Regions from separate parts of the Homo sapiens genome. Here regions 2, 3, 4, 5, 6 and 7 are each linked to region 1. Evidence: promoter capture Hi-C in 16 types of primary human blood cells and fetal thymus (Javierre and others, 2016). All regions are on one chromosome and are shown on one strand. The core of a region is centred on a gene start or on the middle of the fragment in contact, and the rest is flanking DNA. Distances in the headings are between cores, read along the strand shown. Region 1 holds the start of USP28 (ubiquitin specific peptidase 28). Region 2 has its middle 40 kb from the start of NNMT. Region 3 has its middle 22 kb from the start of NNMT. Region 4 has its middle 11 kb from the start of NNMT. Region 5 has its middle 29 kb from the start of NNMT. Region 6 overlaps ZBTB16 (zinc finger and BTB domain containing 16). Region 7 overlaps ZBTB16 (zinc finger and BTB domain containing 16).

Region 1 (3,546 bases), core at 403-2,902:
AACCTGAAATCAACCTGTTCTACAGTGACACCCAGGTTGAGGCCATAAACACAGTCACTCATGAGGAAAGGAAAAATGGCAGAGCCACATACATAAAATGTCCTACTACTCGCAGACACAAACACAGTCAGCCTGTTGAATGTGGAAGATTCCAAGTTAGTATCACCGCAGCCATGCCAATCTGCCAGTTAATCTGCCAGGGGAAGCGGATCCCTGTATCTCCAGGTGGTGGAAGTTGCAGGAGTCCTAGTTCAGGCCTCAGAGAGTAATCTGGCCTCTCCTGGGAGCTGCACCTGACCTGTACCTGTTTCCTTTTGTCAAAAACTGCGCCCGCATGCAGACTAGGGAGGCCTGCAGGTGAAACATAACAATCCCAGCGACAACAATGCCAGGAGTATAGGAAAGGCCACCGTCCATGTTAAATTCACACTTAAAAGTGTAGCTTGAGAGTCAGACCAGACCAGGGCAAGGGTGTAGGTGCTACTCTTAAAAGACGCGCTTCCACACTCAGCCTCTACGCAGATTTGGGACACCCAGCAGCCTGTCAAGTGGGTTTGCCATCATAACACATTTGTATCTTAAATGTGAAACATGGTTCAGTAATCACAATTCCCACACAGTTGTTGAAAATACAATTCAGGCCTGGCGCGGTGGCTCACGCCTATAATCCCAGCATTATGGAAGGCCGAGACGGGCGGATCACCTGAGGTCAGGAATTCGAGGCCAGCCTGGGCAACATGGTGAAACCCTGGGTGTGGTACAGCGTGCCTGTAATCCCAGCTACTCAGGAGAATCGCTTGAACCCAGGAGGCGGAAGTTGCAGTGAGCCGAGACCGTGCGGCTGCACTCCAGCTTGAGGGGACAGAGTGAGACTCCGTCTCAAAAAAAAAGAAAAAAAAAAAAACAAACCGAAACCAACCAAACAAAAAACAATTCAATAGGAGCACCTGGTCTTTTAACATGAAATCGTAAATATCTGGCTCAAACGTAACAAAGTAACACAAAATTTTAGTTTGAACTTCTGAAAATCGAAAATGGAAAAACTGCAATTTTCCTTATCATGCCCAGGTTAAGAGCATCAGGGTTAAGGGCACCAAGCGGGACACCCATGAACGGAGGCTTTGGTCCGTTTGGTTAGCTTTAGACAAGCGACTGCATTCATCCTCCTTCTCTCCTTAAAGATGGTGAACACTTCTTCATGTCATTGGAGTTGGAAATGGCTACAAAGCCTGATGGGAAATCCTTTATTCCACGGTCATTCGGCAGTTTCCCACGGCGGGGGAACAGTTTTAACTCGCCCGTGGGGAGGGTGGAGCCGGAGGTCAGTCCTACAAATGAGGTTTTGAGGGCAGAGAGCGGAGAAGACTCAGGAACGCGGCTCCCAGGATTCGCAAACCCAGTTCCCGGACACTGGCAGCGCGGCCCGCAGCCTCCACCGGCTGTGAAGCTGACCAACAGCGACAGGCGGGGCCGGGATCACGTGACCGACGTCTGGTCAGCCGGGCGTGCGCGGGAGCACGCAGAACTGTTCGGCCCCGGGCCGCGCGCCTTGCGTGCGCGCGCATGCCGGGGGCGGGGCATGTGGGCCAAGCCTCCGGCGCGCGCTGCGGGCGGGGGCGGGACGGAGCGGGGTGGAGGGCGGGGGCGGGGCCTAGTCCTGAGAGGCTGGGCCGGCGGCGGCTGCGGCGGGAGACCGGTGACCCGCGGCTGGGCGCCTCGGCCATGACTGCGGAGCTGCAGCAGGACGACGCGGCCGGCGCGGCAGACGGCCACGGCTCGGTGGGCTCCGCGGCGGCGAGCGGGAGCTGGGGGCGGGCTCCAGGCCCTGAGGGGAGCGTGCGGGGCCTGCAGGGCTGCGGGTTGCGGGCTGCGGAGGGCGCCCCGGCCGGGCGGGACAGGGGGTGCGCCCGCCAGCGTGGGTGAGAAGGCCAAGGGCTCTGCGGGGCTCGGGCCGCGGAGATTGAGGACTGCATCTTCGCGTCCGTGGGCGAGCTGAAGTTGTAGGGGGATTTCCAGATTTTGGAAAACCAAATATAAAGGGCTGGACGTGGGGTTCTCCGCCGCAGGGATCAGTAAGGTGAGCCCTCCTGGGCCCCGTCCGGGGTGAGAAACTTCCGAAAGCGGCAGCGTTGGTTGGTTTTGTTTTGCTTTGACTTTTAAATCAGTTTTATGGCGGCGTTTTTAAAAGGTTAAAGCAGACCGAAGTTATCTCACTTAAAGTCCGGAATTAATCACCGTCTTCTATAAGACCAGGGGTCCCAGTTACCACCACTTCCCTCCCTCCCAACCCGGCTTTAAAAACAAAACAGCGCAGCCTCCCCAATTATTGCCTTCATCGCTCTAGATTTTTAAGGAGGGGGAGGAGCTGCGTGATGAATAGAAAGTCTACTGATGATGATCTCCTGTTCCCAATGTCTAAGAAGATTGAAATCAATATAAGGACTTCTGATCTAAGAATCTGGTGAGAGTGAAAGAACCCTGGTTTGAGAGAAAAGCTAATGTCTGTATGAAGAAACTTGGGAAGAGGGCAATTTGAGCATGTCTTCTAGTGTTACTTCGGAATGTTATAACTTAACACCACCTCCTCACCCCTCAAGTACTGCACTTTTTCAAGAGAAAACGGGAAATCTGTGCCAGTTGTTCAAATACGAGTTTGGAGATGAGAAACTATATTTGTCGTACAAAGCTGGCAGACAGATACCCTCAGGTGAGAATCCTTTTATACCTTTTTACTCTTTTGTCTGGAAGGCCAGTAGTATTTAGCATGGAGACACTTTTTTTTTTTTTTTTTTTTTTTTTTCGACAGAGTCTCCCTCTGTTGCCTAGGCTGGAGTGCTGTGGCGCGATGTCGGCTCACTGCATCCTCCGCCTCACCCTCCTGAGTAGCTGGTATTACAGGTGCTTGCCACCGGCCCGGCTAATTTTTGTATTTTTAGTAGAGTCGGGGTTTCACCATATTGGTCAGGCTGGTCTCAAACTCCCGACTTAAGGTGATTCGCCCGCCTCGGCCTTCCAGAGTGCTGGGATTACAGGCGTGAGCCACCGCGCCCAGTCTGGACGCACTTTTTTTTTTTTTTTTTTTCCAGACGGAGTCTCACTTTGTCGCCCAGGCTGGGGTGCAGTGGCGCGATCTCGGCTCACTGCAACTTCCGTCTCCCGGGTTCAAGCGATTCTCCTGCCTCAGCCTCCCGAGTAGCTGGGACTACAGGCGCGTGCCACCACGCCCAGCTAATTTTTGTATTTTTAGTAGAGATGGGATTTCACTGTGTTGGCCAGGATGGTCTCGGTCTCTTGACCTCATGATCCGCCCGCCTCGGCCTCCCAAAGTGCTGGGATTACAGGCGTGAACCAGGGCGCCCAGCCTGGATGCGCTTTTTAAAACTCATGTAGAAAAAGATACTTCCAGGTCCTGGGCTCCGAAACGAAAGTATCATGCACTGACTTCTAATGGAAATATTGTTAGATGTTCACAAGTGCCTATTGAAATGTGTCAAGATTTTTCTCTGGCTTCAGAGGTCAGTTCTATTTGTTTTTAGCACAGTGATT
Region 2 (3,546 bases), core at 352-2,851, 460 kb before region 1:
GGTGGTTATTGACTGTCTTTTGACTCTTCATATAAACATTGGAATCAGATTATTGATAGCCACAAAATATCTTACTAGGATTTTGATTTTGATTGCATTGAATCTATAGATCAAGTTGTGAAGAACTAATATCTTGACTAATACTGAGTTTTTCTATCTATGAACATGGAATATTTCTCTATTTATTTAGTTTTTCATTGGTTTCTTTCATCAGTTTTATGGCCTTCCTTATATAGACCATGTACAGGTTTTGTTAGATTTATACCCAAGTATTTTATTTTGAGGCACTGTTAATATAAATGACAATTTCTTTTTAATATCAAATTCCACTTGTTCATTGTTGCTATGCAGAAAAATGATTGACTTTTGTATATTAACCTTGCATCCTGAAACCTTGTTATAATTGTTTATTAGTTCCAGGAGCTTTTTTTCTTGATTTTTCAGATTTTCTTTCTTTTTTTATTTTGAGATGGAGTCTCGCTCTGTCGTCCAGGCTGGAGTGCAGTGGTGTGATCTCGGCTCACTGCAACCTCCGCCTCCTGGGTTCAAGCAATTCTCCTGCCTCAGCCTCTTGAGTAGCTGGGATTACAGGCACACGCCACCACACCTGGCTAATTTTTGTATTTTTAGTAGAGATGGGGTTTCACCATGTTGGTAAGGCTGGCCTTGAACTCCTGACCTTGTGATCCACCCGCCTCGGCCTCCCAAAGTGCTGGGATTACAGGCGTGAGCTACCACACCTGGCCTGATTCTTTCAGATTTTCTTTTAGACAATCATGTCTTTTGTGAACAAGATAGTTTTATTTCTTCCTTCTCAGTCAGTATACATTTTCTTTACTTATCTCATTGCATTAGCTAGGATTTCTAGCATAATGTTGAAAAGCTGTGGTGAGAGAGTATGTGTTTGCCTTGTTCCTGATCTTAATGAGAAAGCTTCTAATTTCTCACCATTAAATATGACGTTATCTGTATATTTTTTGTAGATATTCTTTATCAAGTTGAGGAAGTTCCCCCTCTATTTCTCATTTACTGAGGAGTTTTTTTTTTCTTTTTCTTTTTCTTTTATCATGAGCAAGTGTTAGATTTTGTCAAAGGTTTTTTCTACATCTATTGATGTAATCATCTGTATTTTGTTCTTTAGCCTGTTGATATGATGGATAGCCTTAATTAGTTGTCAAATGTTGAAACAGCCTTTCATTCCTGGGATAAATCCCCCTTGGTGTGGCACACAATTCTTTTTATACTTTGATGGATTCAATTTGTTAACATTTTGTTGAGAATTTTTGCATCTATGTTCATGAGAGATACTGAACTGTGGATTTTTTTTTTTTTTTTTTGGAGACAGAGTCTCTCTGGAGTACAGTGACGTGATCTTGGCTCACTGCAATCTCTGCCTCCCAGGTTCAAGCGATTCTCCTGTCTCAGCCTCCTGAGTAGTAGCTGGGATCACAGGCATGCACCACCACACCCGGCTAATTTTTGTATTTTTAGTAGAGACAGGGTTTTGCCATATTGGCCAGGCTGGTCTCGAACTCCTGACCTCAGGTGATCCTCCCGCTTCGGCCTCCCAAAGTGCTGGGATTACAGGCGTGAGCCACTGCACCCAGCCAAGATATATTGAACTGCGGATTTATTTTCTTCCAATGTGTTTGCCTGGTTTTGGTATGAAGGTGATGTTGACTTCATAGAATGAGTTAGGAAGTATTCCTTGTGCTTCTATCTTTGAAAGAGGTTGTAGAAAATCGGTGTGCTTTTTTCCTTAAACGTTTGGTAGAATTCACCAGCGAACCCATTTTGACCTGATGCTTTCTGCTTTAGGAGGCTATTAATTATTGATTCATTTTCAGTTGAATAGATATACCCTTATTCAGTGTGTATTACTTCTTATGTGAGTTTTGGCAGATTGCGTCTTTCAAGAAATTGGTCTATTTTAGCTAGGTTATCAAATTTGTAAGCATAAAGTTGTTCACAGTATTCCTTTATTATCCTTTTAATGTACATGACTTTTGTAATGATGTCCCCTCTTTCATCTCTGATATTACTAATTTATGTTCTTCCTCTCTCTCTTTTTTCTAAGTTAGCCTGGCTATGGGCTTATTAATTTTATTGATCTTTTCAAAGAACCAGCTTTTGGTTTTATTGATTTTTCTCTGTTAATTTTCTGTTTCAATTTCATTGATTTCTGCTCTAATTTTTATTGTTTCTCTTCTTCTGTTCAGTATAGATTTAGTTCGCTCTTGTTTTTCCAGTTTCCGAAGATGAAAGCTTAGGTGATTTCTTTTAAATCTTTCCTATTTTCTAATATATGCACTCCATGCTATCAATTTCCCCCTTAGCACTACTTTTATTGCACTGCACAGTTTTTGATAACTTGTGTTATTTTCATTTAGTTCAAAGTACTTTTTAATTTCTCCTGAGATTTCTGCTTTGACCCTTGTATTATTTAGACACATGTTGTATTTGTATCTCCAAGTATTGGGGGATTTTTCAGCTATCCTTCTATTATAAATTTCTAGTTTAATTCCATTGTGGTCTGAGAGCAGACACTACGATTTCTACTTTTTTTTTACATTTGTTAAGGTATATGAAGTGGTCTAGAATGTGGTCTATCTTGATGAATATTCCATGTGAGCTTGAGAAGAATGTACAGTGAATTCTGCTATTGCTGGATGAACTAGTTTATAGCTGTCCATTATTTACAGTTTATAGATGATGTTTTTGAATTTGATTATGTTCTTAATGATTTTCTGCCTGCTGAATCTGTCCATTTCTGATAGAGGGATGTTGAACTCTCCCACTATACTAGTGGACTCATCTATTTCTCCTCACAGTTCTATCAGTTTTTGCTTCATGTATTTTGATGCTGTGTTATTAGGTGCACACACATTAAGGATTGCTATGTCTTCTTAGAGAACTGACCCCTTTATCATTCGGCAATGCTCCTCTTTATCCCTAATAACTTTACTTGCTGTGAAGTGTTCTGTGTCTGAAATTGTTCTAGTTTCTTCCACTTTCTTTTGATTAGTTTTAGCATAGTATACCTTTCTCCATCCATTTACTTTCAATTGATATGAGTCTTTATATTTAAAGGAGGTTTCTTATAGACAACCTGTAACTGAGTCTTGTTTCTTGATCCATTCTAACATTCTCTGTCTTTTAATTGTTGTGCTTAAGACCACTCATATTCAAAGTGATTATTGATATAATTGGGTTAATATCTATCATATTTGTTACTGTTTTTGTTACCCTTGTTCTTCGTTTCTATTTTTGTCTTTCACTCTTGTTCTGCCTTTAGTTATTTTAATTTAGCAACTTTATATGATTCAATTTTCTCTCCTTTCTTATCATATCAGTTATACTTTTTACTTTTTTTAGTGGTTGCCCTAGAGTGTGCAATATACATTTACAATTAATCCAAGTCCATTTTCGCCAAACATTATACTGCTTCTTGGTTAGTGCTTATTATAACAAAATGATCCTAATTCCCCCCCCTTGTATCATTCTGTCATTCATTTTACTTATACATAAGCATGTGTAATAAAATAC
Region 3 (3,546 bases), core at 367-2,866, 440 kb before region 1:
TGCAGAGAAGAATCAGCCCATGCTAGGAGTGAGTGATTCACACACTGGAACACAGACCGAGTGGAAGGTCCACTCCAGGGGTCACCAGGAGAAATACAAATCACTGCCCCCGACAGTTCCCTGCAAGACGAGAGGAAATTATGGGCTGTATGAAGGACGGGGTTTGAGCCAATTTCACTTGAATCTTAAAGGATGGGATTAACCCAAGTGGTCCTTTAGTTAGAACTCTATTTTAACAAGCATTGTTCTCTAATTCATAAATCATAAAACACTGGACTTCACAGATATGTAATTCAACTTTTCAATTTACAGTAGACTAAGGCACAGAAAGGCAAAGCTCCTTGCCCCCTTAGAGTCTCCATATCTTCACCTCTAAAATAAAAGGATTTGATTGGTAATTTTGTAAATGTTAACTCACAAGCAAGATTATAAATTCTGCAAGGGCAAAGGTCATATTAAACAAATGAGGTTTCTTTCTTTTTTTTTTTTTTTAAATATTTTTGTAGAGACGGGTTCTTGCTCTGTTGCCCAGGCTGGTCTCGAACTCCTGGATTCAAGTGATCCTCCTGCCATGGCTTCCCAAAGTGCTGAGCCACTGTGCCTGACCAACGACTGGGATTTCTATAGCATTTAACAAATATTAGACAGCAGTGAGAAGGGGCCAGAAATGGACCCTTGAGAGGTAAAGGAGCAATAAACTAACTGCTTACCCTCCCCTTTCTAGAAACCTCTTTCTCCTCCTCATGCAAATGAAGTGTTTACATACCTGCTCTTAAGAAAAATACCAGTCGCTTAGGTGGAAGGCTTCAAAGTGAGTTGTTATTACTGATGCTTTTTTTTTTTTTCCTTTTGAGACAGAGTCTTGCTCTGTCTCCCAGGCTGGAGTACAGTGGTGTGATCTTGGCTCGCTGCAACCTCCATCTCCTGGGTTCAAGCAGTTTTCCTGCCTCAGCCTCCCAAGTAGCTGGGATAACAGGCATGCACCACCACGCCCAGCTAATTTTTTTGTATTTTTAGTAGAGACAGGGTTTCACCATGTTGGTCAGGCTGGTCTCCAACACCTGACCTCAAATGATCCACCCACCACGGCCTCCCAAAGTGCTGGGATTACACGGGTGAGCCACTGCACCTGGTCGCTATTACAGATCTTTCTGAAGAGCAGCCTAACTGGTGTTTACAATTCTTTAACTCCTCTTCTGTTTAAACATTCAAAAGCTTTTCTCTGAAAGGAAGAGAGACAATAACCTACCAGGAAAGAAACTACTTCCTGGCTTTCAATATTGAAGTCCAAACAAAGGCAATAATAACTCACAATTAGTTGTTGAGAGTTTGAAATTCAACCTCAACCCTTCCCCTGAATTCATCAGACACTATTAAAGTACAAATTAAAGTGATAAGCATAGAGGTTTGGCCGGCAACCACAGCCATAGAAAGACTTCTTCATTTTCTAAATATTAAAAAACTAGGGTTTGAAAAAGCACAAAAACCTTCTTTCTCTTCTTTGAATAAACAGCAAATAGAAGGTGATGGTGAGTTAACTGCATAATCTAATAGTTATCATTTCTCATGCTATTCTGGCCAAGATCCTCTTTACAGTTTATTAAAATTTGCATTTTGTGTATAGACCTAAAAGGGAAATTTTTAAATGTGTGTATCCATAAAAATAATTATCCATATTTTTTGTTAAAGAAAAATATGCTGAATTCCTCTTTCTCTTTTCCTAGCAGCCTCATAAGTAGACTGTGAAAAAGGAGACACTGCAGAGAAGCGTCTTGTTTGGGAAGGTTTAACTCAATTTAAATTCCTTCATGTGTAAATGGTCAAATTCAGGAATGAAGGGCTTCAACAAGAGCCACGTGCACCCTCTGCTGGCGCTCAGAGGGCCAAGGAAAGCGTTTGAAAGGCCAAGGAAAGCATCTCCTTTCAGTGTGAAACTGGCCAGCAAGGGAGACGAGAGGGCTAGACTCAGAAAGTTTAAATCCCTGCTTTCATTGGAAGATATGAAACAGAAAGCTTCAGTGACTTTACTCACAATGGTGTTTTTCTTTGTGATAATGTTCCTTAAACACATAATCCTAGCTCAACATTTTTTTTTGAGTGAAGCTGATCTATACATGAGAAGGTACAGCTGTAAGAAGGGCCTGGTTTGTCTCATTTGGGTGGGCAAAAGGTCCTGCCTAGCTGACTTGAGTACCAAAAAAAAAATCTAGCATTTCTGCTCAGGCTGTGTCAGAGTGCATTTCTTTCTGGTCTTCCTTGCAGGAAAATAAGTCCCACGAGGCCAGAGACTGCGTCATCTTCACTGTAGGATCCTCATCTCAGGCCCAATGCCTAGCACATAACAGGGATGCAAGAAACATCTTCTGAATGAATAAGCAACTATGAAGAAGGCTCTGGATTCAAGGTGCCTATGGTGCTGACTTGCATAGAAAGCATATGCAAGACAGGTTTTGAAGGCCATACTCAGTTCATTAAGAAAGTTTTTTCAGTGTTAAGATTTTTTTTTCTTTCAATTTTAATTTTAGATTCAGGGGATATATGTGCAGGCTTTTTAAATGGATATATCGTGTGATGCTGAGGTTTGGGGTGTGATTGAACCCATCACCCGGGTAGTGATCACAGTACAATAGGTAGTTTTTCAACCTTTGCCCCTCTCCCTCGTCCCCCCTTTTGTAGTCCCCACTGTCTATTGTTCCCATCTTTGTGTCCATGTTGACCCCATGTTTAGCTTCTACTTATACATGAGAACATGTGGTATTTGGCTTTCTGTTTCTGGCTACTGCACTGAGGAGAATGACCTCCAGCTGCATCCATGTTGGTGCAAAGGACATGATTTCATTTTTTATGGCCATATAGTATTCCATGGTATAAATGTACCACATTTCCTTTATCCGATCCACCATTGATAGGTGCCTACTGGATTCCATCTCTTGCTACTGTGAGTAGTGCTGTGATGAACATGTGGGTGCATATGTCTTTTTGGTAGAATGATTTATTTTCTTACTAAGGAACTGTTCATGAATGCAGCAACATGTGGCTTAATGGCTGTCCTAGAATGGGTTAATACTATCAGAGTTATCTAATATTTGTCACTTAACAGGTTACAAAATGCCTTCACAGGTACCTCACTTGATCTCAGTGCAGTCCTGAGAAATGATGATTATCCCTGTTTTCCAGAAGGGTCCCAAGCCTGAGAAAGCTGGAATGATGCTCTTACAACAATCAAGTGATCAAGCTAAGATTCACACATGTTTTCTGTCCCTTAGTCCTATGTTTGTTCCATGTTCTCTGAGCCTCCATAAGATTTATTGGTTGCCTCGTATTCTCCGAGTTGGCTGAGACTAAAATTAGAGGGGGCAGTTATAGCTTTTAAAGCTCAGCCTAGTAAGTTGTACCATGGACATCTTTTATTACTTTTGACAGCCAGATGATGGGAATCACGAAGACTGAGCTGCATGACACCAAATGGGTTAACGACCTTTTTAATAGCTTTCTTCTCCCCACTCTCTCCCCAGGATGTTACAGAGAGACTTGCAGCTTCCTGCA
Region 4 (3,546 bases), core at 705-3,204, 410 kb before region 1:
ATGATTGAGGTGATAGCTTAGATCAGTGGGGAAAAAGATAGACCTTTCAATAAATAGTGCTAAGATAATTGGGTATCTGTAGGGAGGAATAAGGAATTAGAACCCCACCTCACATTATGCACAAAAAACAATTCAGGCAGATTAAAAAACTAAATATGAAGGGCAAAACTCTAAAGATTTAGAAGGTAATGTAGAAGAATATCTTTATGACCTTGGGTGCAGATAACGATTTCTTAAACCAGACACAAAAGCCATGAATCATGAATAAAAGATTTGTAAATGCTAGTATATTACAATTAAGAATGTCTGTTCGACCAAAGACACTTTAAGAGAGTGAAGAGACACTCTACAGAGAGGGAAAAGATACTACAACACATGAAACTGACAAGCAAGAATTTATGAATTCTGACAACAGAATTTACAAAGAACTTCTGTGAATCAATATGAAAATAAAGAAAACAAAAAACTTGAACAGACCCTTTCTGAGAAAGGAAATCCAAGTGACCAATAAACCTAGGAAAAGATCCTTAATCTCATCAGTGGAATGCAAATTAAACCACAATGAGATACAATTATGCAGCCATCAAACTGGCAAAAATCACATCTGACCAGCACCAAAGGCCTTGACCAATAGATGTCCTTGTGTATTTCTAGCAGGCATGTAACTTGGTGCAGCGTTATGGAAAACAGTCTGGCATTGACTGGTAGAGTTGAGTTGCTGCGTACCCTATGCCCAGTAATTACAGTCCAGGTACACACCTAGAGAAAAATCTGGCACATAAACATGAATGTTCTTAGCAGCATTGTTTGGAACAGCCCCCAACTAGAAACAACCTAAAAGTCCAACAATGGTAGAATAAATTGGAGTGTACAGCAATGAAAATGAACCAATTAGAACTACAAGCATCAGCATGGATGATTCTCCAAATGATGTAGGGCGAAAGAAGAAAGTCCCAAGAAAGACTTCCTTTTTATTCAATCTATAAAGTCCAAAAGTCCAAAACAAACAAAAGTAAATTTTATTATTTAGTGATGCACAAGTGGGTGGGAAAACTAAAGAAAAACAATGAGATAATTTCATTAGATGCCAGGATAGTGGTTGCCTGTGGGTGACTGGGGAGGACAAAGTTGTGCTCAGGTTACAGAACACAGGGGGAAGAGGGTGCTTCAAAAATCCTGCAATGCTAACCAGTGCTCATGCATTTTATATTAACCTTTATGCTCTATGTAAATGTTCTATGAACTTTTCTGTAGATGCATCTCACAATTTAAAAAACATCCTGCATATCCAGACGCAGAGTCCCTCGAAACAAGCACAAATTTAGAGATCAAGTCTACTTGATAATATTGGTCTTCCCAAGTTTCCTCTCTGAGGCAGGACCTAGTGTTTCTTTTTCACTCAATTTTACCCAGTGGGGCTAAATGGTACTCAATGGTACTAAAGGATAAACAACGATCTCTGCAAAAATGGGGCAAGGATGGAGGAGAACATTACAGAAACTGCAGCTGAAGCTTTCCTTCCAAGCTTTTCTTTCCAATGCTGGAAGAAGTCCTTCTGTGCCTCAGATGACATCAAGGCCTACTGTAGATCAGAGGGCCCCAGGATGCTTCAGAGATGACACAGACTTCTGTAGGCAGTGATCTCTCATTTGACACTCCTTGCCTTCTGCTTATCTCCAAGAAAGAAATGTACCCCTGGGTACGCCACAGCAATTAGGAGCCTGCTCCCTTCACCTCTTCCTGCTGCAATTGTGGGTGGGGTATTCACATATGTTGCAGAGAAGCAACTACTGAGCCTCTTCCTCTTTCTCTGCTCAAACCATACCTTGTGGCAGGCGTGAGTCGCCAGGAAAGAATTCCAAGGCAGAGCCAAATTAAGCAACTCCTGGAGTAAGAGGCATCAGTAATTTGGGAGCATTTCATGTGCTTGGTAATTAATAACAAATAAACAAAATTATCACCAAAACTATAACCCATCAAATTTGATGTGCTCCCGCAGGGCCTGCTCTAGATTTTAGTGGATGCATATGGTGAGTCCAGAGCTGATTAATATGAGCCTTAATTGCAGGGAGGTAGAGAACCCTTTCTTGGAGTCCACAACCTGTCAGCTTCTCTCTTTTGTCACTCTTAAGTCATGGCTACCTTTGGGGTAAAAATGAGGCTGCAGACCATAAGGGCGTCACTGTATGTACGCAGAGGGCTGCCTTCTGCCTGGTTCTCACAGTGTGCCCTCTCGTAGAGCTTTGGGTTGAAAATCCATAGCCACAAAGACACTGATTCAGCCAGAAACTCTAGTTATCTAATTATCTGGTTATCAATACTCCAGCGTCTCAAATATTTTCACTGGCTTCTAAATCCATTGTTCAGGTTACAGAAAGCTTTGAGAAGGATGCCAAGGAGGGAGGGAGAGGAAGGGTGTAAGGTGGCAAGCTTCTTGGCTAAAGGAAGAAGAAGCGTGATGGGAGAAAAGACATGTTGGGGCCAGGCACAGTCGCTCACACCTGTAATCCCAGCACTTTTGGAGGTTGAGGTGGGCGGATCAGGAGTTCAAGACCAGCCTCGCCAACATGATGAAACTGTCTCTACTGAAAATACAAAAATTAGCCCGTCATGGTGGTATGCACCTGTAATCCCAGCTACTTGGGAGGCTGAGGCAGGAGAATCACTTGAACCCAGAAGGTGGAGGTTGCAGTTAGCAGAGACTACACCACTGCACCCCAGCCTGGGTGACAGAGCAATACTCTGCTCAAAAAAAAAAAAAAAAAAAAAAAAGATGGCCGGGTGCAGTGGCTCACGCCTGTCATCTCAGCACTTTGGGAGGCCAAGGTGGGCATATCACAAGGTCAGGAGATCGAGACCATCCTGGCTAACACGGTGAAACCCCGTCTCTACTAAAAATACAAAAATCAGTCGGGTGTGGTGGCACATGCCTGTAGTCCCAGCTACTTGGGAGGCTGAGGCAGGAGAATTGCTTGAACCCAGGAGGCGGAGGTTGCAGTGAGCCAAGATAGCACCACTGCACTCCAGCCTGGACAAGACTCCATCTCAAGAAAAACAACAGCAACAAAAAACAAAAACAAACAAACAAAAAAAACCATGTTGGGGTGAAGGTGGTTGAGGACTACTTGGAAAGGAAAGCAATTCCTGAGCCTCAGCCAGGACCAGTTTCCATAGTCCAGCCACGAGGTGTCCAGGCCTGACCTACCCCTCCTATACAGTTTGTAAATTGCAGGCAGATGGCATCCAGGGTGATAGGGCCTTTGGCAGAGCCAGGTACCAGCAGTGTTGCTGTGGCAGGTGGCCAGCTTGCTGGAGATCCACATCTGCCTGGCACAGAGAGGCTGGAAATCAGGGTGGAGCCTCCCTAATATCCTGCTGGCAAAAGCTGAAAACCTGAGTGGCTTCTGTGCTATCTGCACTATTTTGCTTTGTTTCCTTTCCTCCTCGGCTTGTTGCTCCTTTGTCACATGCTTACTTACAAAACTTACTGGGACCTGATTTAGGGCTATCTGCTCTGTTCCATTGATTTTTCTTTGCTTCCTACTA
Region 5 (3,546 bases), core at 613-3,112, 390 kb before region 1:
TGCCTTTCACCATAAACAACTACGAAACTGGACAAAACCGGACAAAACCTATGACACAGCTGCTTTCAGATTCCCAGGTAGCATGCCCACAAATTCTGATTCAGGAGCTCTAAGGCAGGGAACCAGCTGTTTCAGTTTTTTTTTTTTTTTTTTTTTTTGAGACGGAGTCTCGCTCCATCGTCCAGGCTGGAGTGCAGTGGTGCGATCTCGGCTCACTGCAAGCTGCGCCTCCCAGGTTCACGCCATTCTCCTGCCTCAGCCTCCCGAGTAGCTGGGACTACAGGCGTGTGCCACCACGCCCAGCTAATTTTTTGTATTTTAGTAGAGGCAGGGTTTCACCTTGTTAGCCAGGATGGTCTTGATCTCCTGACCTCGTGATCCGCCCACCTCGGCTTCCCAAAGTGCTGGGATTACAGGCGTGAGCCACCGCGCCTGGTCTGTTGTAGTATATTTTTAAGCAATCATAAGCTTGGTTGCATGGCTGGTTTGGGAACCATGGTAAGTCCCATGTATGGAGGCTGACCCTCTCCTAACAAGCTCCAGAGGATGCAAGATAAAGAGGGAACTCTGTGAACAAGTGGGAGGACTGTACAGATGTTCTGCCTAGCTGGGAGAGGCTGGAAAAAGGACTAAAACAAAAGGTACAATTAGCTCATCTGTGAAGTTCCCTTCAGTTGTCACACTAGGGACCCTGTAAGAGGAAACAAGGTCACTGTTGATCTTGTAGCTCCCAGGTGTCTCAGAAAGGTCAGCGATGTCGCCACTCCACTGGCCTAAAGCTGGGTTAACCAGATGACTCTGCTCCATAAGGTCTCTTCAGATCGTTTCCTCCTTTTACTCCTACTACCCAGCCCCATTTCAGGCCCTCATCATCTCATAACTGAATAGATAATAATAATCACCGCTTTCTACAACAAGTTAACAGCATGGGGAAAATGAAACTTAAGAGAAATAACAAATCGATGCAGTATGTGGGTATGATTTGGCTCTTAATTCAAATAAATCAACTTTAAAAAGTTATTTTTGAAGCAATCAGGAAAATCTGAATACAGACTGAGTGAGGATACGGAGGAACCATTCCTAATTTTGGAAAGATATAAATGGCACTGAGGTTAAATGAGAAAAATTCATTTTGAAAAATGCATGAATTGGAGTATGTCGTGGTGAAACAACACGATGTCTGGGATTTTCTTTAAAATATTTCAGCAGAAACAAAAGACAGGAAAAAGAAACGAAAGACAGAAAAGGAACAAAAGACAGAAGAATAGGTGAAGCAAGTGTGGCAGAATCTGGATGATGTTGAATCTGGGTGACGGGCATTATGTGGGGTTGATCATATTATTCTATTTTTATGTATATTAGAAATATATGTAATTCATTAAAAATATTAAAATATTTTTAACAACGAACTAATACGGTGGCTGGCATACAATGAGTATTATGTAGGTATTGGCATTTGTAGTCATAACAATTGTGTGGCAAGCACAGTTCATAACATCAAGGATATGGTGGCAGACAAGGCCCTGGCTCTCACAGGGTCCACATGCAGGAGACTAGGACATGAACCATGACAAGTAAACAAATAAAGAAGATCATATCAAACAGTGGTAAATGCTAGGAAAAACAAACTTGATTTTTATTTATTTGTTTATTTATTTATTTGAGATGGAGTCTCGCTCTGTCACCCAGGCTGGACTGCAGTGACGTGATCTTGGTGAACTGCAACCTCTGCCACCTGGGTTCAAGTGATTCTCTTGCCTCAGCCTCCTGAGTAGCTGGGATTACAGGTGTGCACCACCACGCCCAGCTAATTTTTGTGTTTTTAGTAGAGATGGGGTTTCACCATGTTGGCCAGGCTGGTCTCGAACTCCTGACCTCAGATGATTTGCCTACCTTGGCCTCCCAAAGTGCTGGGATTAAAAGTGTGAGCCACCGTGCCCAGCTGAAAACAAACTATAGATGGGATGGTTTCTCAGTCTATTTTCTCTTGTTATAACTAAATATCATTTTTCAAAGAATAAAAGTTTATTCAGCTCATGGTTTTGGAGGCTAGGAAGTCCAAGGGCATGGCACCAGCCATCTGGTGTGGGCCTTTATGCCGTCTCATCACATGGTGAAAGAATTGCATGGCAAGACAGAGCAAGCAAGCCAGAGAGAGCTTGTTTTTCTAACAAAGCCACTATCAAGGTAAGAAACCTACTCCCATGATAATATTAATCCATTCAAGAGGGCAGAGGAATTAAGTTTCCAACACATAAACTTCTGGGGGACACATTCAAACCATAGCAGATGGTCAGGTAAGACCCCACTGAGAGGCAATATTTGAGCTAAGACCCAAATTATATGTGAAGGAGGCAGCCATGCAAAGATATGGGGTGGGACTGGGGGTGGGGGTGGGCAAGGAGCTCTTGGCAGTGGGAACAGCACATGCAAAGGCCTGTCCTGTTCTGGAAACAAATGAATCACAGTGAGGCTGGGTATAGAGGTGGGAAAAGAGTGGAAGAAGACGGTCAGAAAGGTAGACAGTGGCAGGTTTATTTAGAGCCTTTGCTGGCAGAAGAAGAGCAAGATAGCTAGTTAGAAAGAGCCCTGTGATAGGCATAAGTAAAACATTTAGGAAAACTCTTGAGTGCAACTACTTAAAAGGTAGACTAAGCCAAGTATATACTAAGCCTATAGCTCTAAGGGAAACAGCGAGGTGGGGTGGGGGACATAATATTAGTACGTGTTGATTGCTCCTCAGCGTTTGTAGCAAGATATTACTATGAAGAGATGTGTTCAGGTAATAACTGACAATTTCCCGAGAAGAAATGAATGTAAGTAGGAGGAAAATCCAAAAATTTGGGTTTTCTTGGATATAGGAAAGCTACCTGCTTCTGGACCCTAAATTACAGGAATGAAACTGGAAAAGGCTTCAAGCATTAAAGGCTCATTATTAAAAATTCTCTTACAAAGAGACTCAGTACTGTGACAAACATCAGATTAAAGGTGTTGCTTTTCCCACCCAAGCTGACTCGCAGATGACCCCAAGGTAACCACCAGGAAGTTGACAAGGAGACTTGGCGGTGCAGAATAATAATAATAATAATAACAGATTGGACAACTAAGTTGAGGAAAGAACTTTAATCATGGTTAATGGGTTACTGGCGTAAGAAATCGATTGGAAGCAAATACAGCCAAAGGCTATTTTCGGAGAAATTGAATTGCCAAAAGTCCATGAACCTGGCCTGATAATGTCTTTGACTCTCAAAGCTTAAAACCACACTCAGTCTCCCAGATTTGCACAAGCAGGAATTGGGCTGGTCCTGAAAGCCACACTGTCCCAAGGCAGACTCAATCCCAGGACTCACTTCAAACGTGGCCAGGGAACAGTTAAGGAATAATCTCCCAGAGGTACACTCTAAAAGCAACAGAAATAGATGAGACATCAGGGTGGGGGAGAATGTAGCTAGACAAAGTAAAAGCATCAAGGAACTTTTCAGAGACTGTCTAATATCCAGAGCTCCAGCAGAAGAAGATGATGGGGTGAGCCAACAAGACTGAGAA
Region 6 (3,546 bases), core at 488-2,987, 360 kb before region 1:
GAAACCACGGGGCTGGACTCAATGCTACCTCTGGAGCTGACTGCCCGCCTGTCTGGGCTTACCCTGGAAGAGGCCCAGTAAGGATGGTACAGAGGACTCCTGCCTCTAGTACAGCTCCAGCAATGGCTAGAGAACCCCTGGCCAGGAGTGGGCAGTAGCTGGGGCTGGGTCACAAGGCATAGCTCTCTGAGGCCTTCCAATCCCACTGGGAGCCACCAAGGTCTCTCAGAAATGCTGAGTAGTCTACTCAGCTTCACTTGCTGGAGGGAGACATAATGAGAGATGTATCTTTCTGGACAGAAGCAATGCCAAGAGTTGACAGTGAGTCTTCAATGTCCCTCCCTGCTTGGCCGACGTACACAGGAGGACAGTGCATCTGCAATGCGTTCTGTGCCCGGTGGCCCCCACTCCTTCAACTTGAGAGCCCCCAGCATCTACTCCCTCTCTGCCCTTAACCCCCACCCCACAGAGAGCCCAAATTAAGCCAGGTGTTCAAACAGCTACCTTAAATCAGTAGGGTTGAGTAGGCTTTGGAGGCCAGCCATGCCCTTTAAGAGCCAAGGCTTCTCCTTATGCATCCTCTGAGATCCCCGGCATGGAAGGAACCTGGGCAGAGGGAACATGAATGGCATTCCCAATAGGACATCTCAGCCTATACAGCCAGACCCACAGGTGCTCTGAGTGTCAATACACCCAGCAAGGCAGACTGCAGCACTCTGCCCCCTTGGCCTTTCCAAGGCCCCTCGATACTGCCCCACTATGCTGTCCCTACTTCTCAGGGTGGCCTGAACCCACTTCATGTCCATTCAGCCAACTCACTGAGCCACTACCAAGTACAGGCACTGTGCTAGGTGACCAGGGGCAGGCTAAGGCTGAGCAGAGAAACTGGGTCCCAGACTAGTGGGAGATGCTGAGTTAACAACCACCCAGAGGGTAAGGCAGGGCGACTCCAAGAGCTCCTGAGATTTTGAGTTAGGCTTTTAAAAGTTGAGTATCTGAGAAGCAAAGGACAAGAAGTTGGGACACATGTGCCAGGCTAAGGAGAGAGACACCACTGGCAAATGTCAGAGCAGATGGGGCCAAGGTCAGGCCCTGGGGATGGAGACAAGCTGGGAGGGTGATGGGAGTCAGATCAGAGGGCTGCATATGCCAGGCAGGACAGGTTGGACTTTATTCTACAGGCAATGCAGTGCCATGAAAGGACCGAGGGTTGCTATGATCCTAATGTCTGGGTCCCCCTCTGATTCCTTTTTTGAAATCCTAACCCCTAAGGTGATGGTATTAGGAAGTGGGGCCTGGGAGAGATAATTAGGTAATTAAAATGGAATGAGTGTCCTTGTAAAAGAGGGCCCAGAGAGCTAGCTAGCCCCTTCCACCACGTGAGGACACCGAGAAATCAGCAGTCTGCAACCAGGAGGAGGACCCTCACCAGAACCTGAACATGCTGGCACCCCAATCACAGACTTCCCAGCCTCCAGAGCTGTGAGAAATGCATGTCTGCTGTGTATAAGCCACCCAGTCCGTGGCAGTTTGTTATAGCAGCCTGACTTGACTAAGACGAGTGGTGCTAGCACGATCTGACCTGTGTTTGAAGCCAGTGACTCTGGGCACACATGGGGACCAACAGCAGCAGCAAGCGGTTAGAAGCAGCGAGAGGGCTGATGGGCCACTGGAGGAGGGTAGGGACCAGACCAGGGCAGAGGCTGCCAGGGCAAAGGGAGAGAGAAAATCCTAGAAAGGTGGGACAGCAAGGGAGGAGTGGCACGCAAAAAATCCCAGATGGCCAGTTCCACAACTGGCCAACAGGCTGGAAGTCATATGGTCACCAGCTGGAAAGGAAACACTATGATGTCCCTACAGTGGTCTCTCTCCCCTTCCTGGGACATTCCACAAGGTGCAGGGGTGCTCCTTGGTCACGTATCCACCAACCAAGGCTCCCAGGGGAAGAAAGGGGAGCCTCTGAGACTCAGCATCCACTTTCCCCATTTTTCTGCTTAGAAACTAACAGCTATGATGATAGAAAAGTATTTTTAAAAAAATGGAAAAGTGGGGGAGATGTGGATGAGACACAAGAAAAGCTATTGGTGCATGCGAGTTAAAAATCTAGAGACTAGATGTGAGTTATTAAACAATTTGCTGGCGTTTCAGCCTAGCTGATTGTTCGCATGTATGATGAGTCAGGGCAGATTCTATTACACTGGGAGATTAAGCAAATAAATGCTAGCTTTTGGAAACACATTAAAATGTGGGACTATGGAAATAAAATTATCTAGAAAATTGTATTAGCAATTCATTAGCTGCAGTGAGATGTGCGGCGGGGCAGGGGGGCCCGGCAGCACTGGAACGCTCTGCTCCCTTCAACGCCTGGGTTCCGTCCTCTGCTATGGAGAGACGTCAGGCCTGGTACCACTGGGGAGAGGGGAGGTGCTCTGACTGGATAAACGAGACCCTCAGAAGTCAGATGGTCCACATGACACAGGGGAAGGAAAAGCAGCACAGGGGTCCCAGCTCTCCCACATACTTGCCTTGTGGCCCCGAGCAAGTCATTCTTTTCACCAGATCCATTTGCTCCTTATCTGCCACTGTGGTTATCAAGAACATCGAATGAGATATCCACACGAAAAAACTTTATAATGTGGTCACAGAGCCAATGATGGCCAAACAACACCTTCATCTGAATTAGAAAATCACGTCTCCTCCTCTGGCCAGCCCCACAGACCTGGCTGCATATTTATGGTGAGTACAGAGAGGGCAGGGTTTTGGGATCTTCCCTCCTCAGCTGGGCACCCTTGTGCAGTGAACGACCTGGATCATGAGTCATGGCAGCCCTGCACAATACACATGCCTAAGCTGTTTTGTTGTCTTTGGGCTGCTACTTTCTGGGAAGCTGACCCTAGAGAAGGCATCTTTGAGGAGTTACACCACTTAGGATTCAGTGCCAACAACACCATCTTCCTCTGAGCTCTGTTGTATCACGTAAAGCCCTGTATTGCATTTATTTTGGACTTTCAGCTCTGCCTAATAGATTATAAGCCTCCAAAGTAGGAACTATTGTATTCATCTTTATATTCCCCAACACACAGTACACAGCCTGATATGGAGTAGGCACTTAATAACTGCATGTTGAATTAGAAAATAAATAAGGGGTTGTAAGACAATCACAAAGGGTAGAGGAGGAGGTATGAGGAGAGTCATGGTACAGACAGAGGGCTAGGGATGAGGAAAGTTCAGACTACAGTCCACAAATGAAACCACTACTAAGAGCATCCAACAAGACTCTCCTTGGAAATCAGTAATGACAAGTGACCCACAGGCAGCGGATCTCACTGAGGCCCCCCGTGTCTGTCTGGTGGGCTGGACAGGACTCCTTCGTTGTCACTCCATGTCTGAGCTCTGTTGCTCGGAAGCAAAAACCCAGACCATAGAAGGATCAGTTTTGCCATATTATACAGTGAAACAGTCCAAAGATCCCAATTCTGGCCCAGAGGTACAGCCCTTCTTGGATTTGTGATCCTAGTCCAGGCAGTGGTTGTCCTTAACCTTGGT
Region 7 (3,546 bases), core at 615-3,114, 330 kb before region 1:
TTGCCTTGCAAGAAATGATTGTCCAAGTGTCAACAACCTGCTGCTTCCCAGAGCCTCAGGGTCAGAGGCCAGGAGGGAGCACAATGGCTTTCTGGAGCTGAAGGGTCTGGGGAGAGGGGCCTCTGGGGATCTCCGGAATGTGAAGGCTCTGAATCCAGGCACCGGGGTCTCCTGTTTTTGCCCTTTTATATCCTTCCTCCCTCCACAAATCCCAGACACCATTAACCTGAAAAACAGTAGATCAAGAAAGGAACGGGATTAGTAACAGCCTACATACACATGCATACACAAAAAAGTTTATTTCACAAGAAATGGCCAGCAAATCCTTCTCCAGCACACAAAATAAGTGCACCCCAAAGCAGCTTTGAGTGTCTCCTCCTCCTGCTTCCAAACCTTCCCTGCCCACTCACCCCACCAGAGTTGGGTTATCCACCTTTTCTGCATCCATGATGCAAGTCGCAAAAAGACCTCCTTTGTCTCTGCCCTCTTCTTATCTGCTGTCTCCTGGGGGCAAGTTATCTTCGGATGCGGGCACCTGCACAAGTGGTTGGTTCTCAAATCCCATTGAATGAATGAGATTTACAAGGGAATTACACAGTTTGGGGAATCTCTTCCTTCTGAAACTTTCTACTCTAGAGGTTATGGATCTGGAATGGTTTGCCTGTGGAATCTGTCTCATTGACCCATTCGGATGACGCCGAATCAAAAACCTTAAGATACCTTTCTTCCTAACTTCTGCCCACCACCTAACACTGAATACTTAATTACTGAATACTTAATCACTGAATGGACCAGTCTGTTTCCCTCATTATTTTCTCTATCATTCCAAACAATAGTGGTTAACTTGCTCTTGTACAGCATTTGTGGTGGTGGTACGTGCAGGGAGAAAGCAAGGTAGGTGCAAGATAAAAGAAGCCAACGGAAGAAAAGGGCCCAGAAAAGCTGGGATGGGAGGCTGTGCAGAGGGCACAGACTGGGGTGCATTGGCATTGCAGGGCACCCTGAAGCCAGAGCCCATGACAGGAAACCACAGCAAGAGGAAACATCACAATGACATCACCTTACATCTGAATCATGCTTTACTGCTTGCAAAGACCCTACCCTGTTCTAAGACCATTTTGGTCCTCACATCCCTTTTTGAGGTATAAAGGGCAGGTATGGTGTCCTAATTTTTCAGACAAGGAATCTGAGACTTGCAAAGGATGAGTGACTCTTCCAAGGTCCTTCACCTGGCAAGTGAAGAGCAAAAATCTGAAGCCAGACAAGAACAGATTCTTCATTCCTGCTTCTAATCAGGAAGCTCCCTTTTCTGTTTTTGATTAATCATGCAATAAGCATTTATTGAATGATTATTTGAACTAACACAGTAGAAAGGCCCAAGTCCCCAAGGTGGTTCAATCTTCACCCTAACTCGTGCAGTGGCAAGATAGCTAAGGGCAAGTGGTGTACATCTATGGTGCTGGAGACCAGAAGGAGGGTCAACTGTGAAAAGGGTGTCATAGAGAAGACAAATGAGCTGAGAAGACTCTATTAATACCAGGCAGGCAAGGCCAGGCGTGGTGGTTCACACCCGTAATCCCAACACTTTGGGAGGCCGAAGTGGGTGGATCACCTGAGGTCAGGAGTTCGGGACAAGCCGGGCCAACAGAGTGAAACTCCATCTCTAATAAAAATACAAAAATTAGCTGGGCATGGTGGCACACGCCTGTAATCCCAGCACTTTGGGAGGCCAAGGCAGGAGGATCACTTGAGGTCAGGAGTTCGAGACCAGCCTGGTCAACATAGTGAAACCCTGTCTCTACTAAAAATACAAAAATTATCTGGGTGTGGTGTCGCATGCCTGTAATCCCAGCTACTCAGGAGGCCGAGGCAGGAGAATCGCTTGAACCCAGGAGGCGGAGGTTGCAGTGAGCTGAGATCTTGCCACTGCACTACAGCCTGGGTGACAAAGTGAAACTCTGCCTCAATATGTGTGTGTGTGTGTGTGTGTGTGTGTGTGTGTGTGTTGTGTGTGTGTATCAGGCAAACAAGACACATGAGAGTGTGGGGGTTAGTGGAAGATGCATGGAGGAGAAAAACAGCCAGGAGAGTCTGGGAAATTCTAAGTGGCTCAGTGTACACGCATCATAGGGGGTGACAAAAGATGAGGCCTGTGACTCTGATTGTGAGGAACCTTCTGGGCCACGCAGCAGAGTCTAATCTTATCCCATCTGGAAATTCAAAACCCTGGTTATCCATAGGAATCTCCTGGGGAGCTTGAAAATACATCCATGTCTGAGCCCCATGCAGGAGGTTCTGACTCATCCGGGTTGAGGTGGGAACCTTTGCTTGCTATTAATACATTTTTTTCATAAAGTTCCTCTAAATGATTTCACTGTGTAGCTGGGGTAAGACAATGATGATGCTTTGAAGGATAAGAGAGAGAGACGCAAGAGCAGGTATGGGTGTTAAGATGGCAGAGACATCCTTACCTAGGATGTAACACATGAGGCCAAGCACCAAAACTTGGGCTGCAGCCATCAACTCTGCATCCACCCTCCATTGCCACCTTTGTCTTACAGGAATGAGGCAGTCGTTCAAAAACAGAGCATGCCGCCATCCTGGGGTCTTATGTGATAAACCTCTCACTAGGGTCCTTTCCCAGTGTCACTTGCCTTCAGACCAACAAGCTGCAGCTGTCAAACCAAGGGCACCTGAGAGATCAGACAGAGAAGTAACATGGGGGAAATGCTGTGTGCAGAAGCCATAGGTGTCTAGCCACAGCAGACTGGATTTTGGGCAGACAAAGGGATGGGGAACCTAAAAACATCACTCCTCAATTCTTAGTGCAGGTATATCACATCCAATTGCCTTGTTTTATTACTTATCTTTTTAGATATGTATGTTTTCCTCCCTAGCAATAGTTAGCTTTCTGAAAGCGGGCTGAGCCCTAATTTTTCTATTTTGTAAAAATGTACAGAATGCTTAGAACAGCACAGCTAGCAGGCAAAGTGAGGTTTGAGGAACTCCAGGCCATCAGCATCAGGCTTGCTATGGGGGCTCCTCAGGCCCATACAGAGCCCTGGTGCAGACCCTGACTCACAGACGGCCAAGGAGGGCTGCCTGGGGGCAGAATCTCCTACTCTGGGGATTTCCAGGAAAGGGAAAGAGGAGCTTTTCTGGAGATGGCACAGAGTTGTGGGTAGAGGGACAGAAGCAGTGGTCTAAGACCAGGGATTCCTGGGTTCTAGCCCACAGTGTCTCTCTCTAGCCTGCTGTGTGATCCCAGACAAATCCCAGAACCCCTCTGAAGCTCAGCATCATGCTCCCTAAAGCCCCTTGCAACAGTTCTGCAGTCTAGGAGTCTACAGATTTTAGAATTCTAGGACCCCTAATTAGTGTCTCCCGATGTGAAAACACCCCAACACTGGGCTCAGTATATGTAAATGGCAATTCCAGACTCTACTTTTGAAAGGTTGGCGATATGGCACCATGACTTGGTACTAGATGAGACAAGTCCTCTTTCTGAGTAGCAGCCAGGCTCCCTCTTGACATCCAGGAGCTTAA

What was found. Contacts are between HindIII fragments. The CHiCAGO score rates a contact against its expected background, and 5 or more counts as called.
Region 2: a fragment that was not itself captured here is called in contact with the fragment with the promoter of USP28 in region 1 in 2 of 17 cell types (total CD4 T cells and naive CD4 T cells); the score reaches 5.3 in total CD4 T cells.
Region 3: a fragment that was not itself captured here is called in contact with the fragment with the promoter of USP28 in region 1 in 1 of 17 cell types (naive CD4 T cells); the score reaches 5.0 in naive CD4 T cells.
Region 4: a fragment that was not itself captured here is called in contact with the fragment with the promoter of USP28 in region 1 in 5 of 17 cell types (total B cells, naive B cells, activated CD4 T cells and 2 more); the score reaches 7.7 in total B cells.
Region 5: a fragment that was not itself captured here is called in contact with the fragment with the promoter of USP28 in region 1 in 16 of 17 cell types (total B cells, naive B cells, total CD8 T cells and 13 more); the score reaches 17.2 in total B cells.
Region 6: a contact is called between a fragment that was not itself captured here and the fragment with the promoter of USP28 in region 1, in 8 of 17 cell types (naive B cells, neutrophils, total CD8 T cells and 5 more). The highest score is 8.6, in naive B cells.
Region 7: a fragment that was not itself captured here is called in contact with the fragment with the promoter of USP28 in region 1 in 7 of 17 cell types (naive B cells, total B cells, naive CD8 T cells and 4 more); the score reaches 8.2 in naive B cells.

The regions. Positions count from the first base shown.
Region 1 is chr11:113,873,678-113,877,223 of GRCh38, reverse strand. USP28 (ubiquitin specific peptidase 28) reads left to right here and starts at 1,652. Exons shown (of 26, transcript NM_001346252.4): 1 at 1,652-1,779. The coding sequence starts at 1,723. RefSeq lists enhancers at 432-1,093, 1,144-1,393, 1,383-1,677, 3,264-3,546 and silencers at 1,414-1,573, 1,594-1,953. The HindIII fragment of the contact is 13,869 bases long and covers 1-3,546 here.
Region 2 is chr11:114,335,109-114,338,654 of GRCh38, reverse strand. No RefSeq gene overlaps it. Among named protein-coding and RNA genes, the nearest start is that of NNMT, 40 kb to the right of the region's middle. The HindIII fragment of the contact is 1,332 bases long and covers 936-2,267 here.
Region 3 is chr11:114,316,253-114,319,798 of GRCh38, reverse strand. No RefSeq gene overlaps it. Among named protein-coding and RNA genes, the nearest start is that of NNMT, 22 kb to the right of the region's middle. The HindIII fragment of the contact is 798 bases long and covers 1,218-2,015 here.
Region 4 is chr11:114,283,991-114,287,536 of GRCh38, reverse strand. It overlaps a transcript of NNMT not described here. Among named protein-coding and RNA genes, the nearest start is that of NNMT, 11 kb to the left of the region's middle. The HindIII fragment of the contact is 853 bases long and covers 1,528-2,380 here.
Region 5 is chr11:114,265,381-114,268,926 of GRCh38, reverse strand. It overlaps a transcript of NNMT not described here. Among named protein-coding and RNA genes, the nearest start is that of NNMT, 29 kb to the left of the region's middle. The HindIII fragment of the contact is 2,784 bases long and covers 471-3,254 here.
Region 6 is chr11:114,236,320-114,239,865 of GRCh38, reverse strand. All of the region lies in intron 4 of ZBTB16 (zinc finger and BTB domain containing 16), which reads right to left. Among named protein-coding and RNA genes, the nearest start is that of NNMT, 58 kb to the left of the region's middle. The HindIII fragment of the contact is 4,626 bases long and covers 1-3,546 here.
Region 7 is chr11:114,206,051-114,209,596 of GRCh38, reverse strand. All of the region lies in intron 4 of ZBTB16 (zinc finger and BTB domain containing 16), which reads right to left. Among named protein-coding and RNA genes, the nearest start is that of NNMT, 89 kb to the left of the region's middle. The HindIII fragment of the contact is 4,104 bases long and covers 1-3,546 here.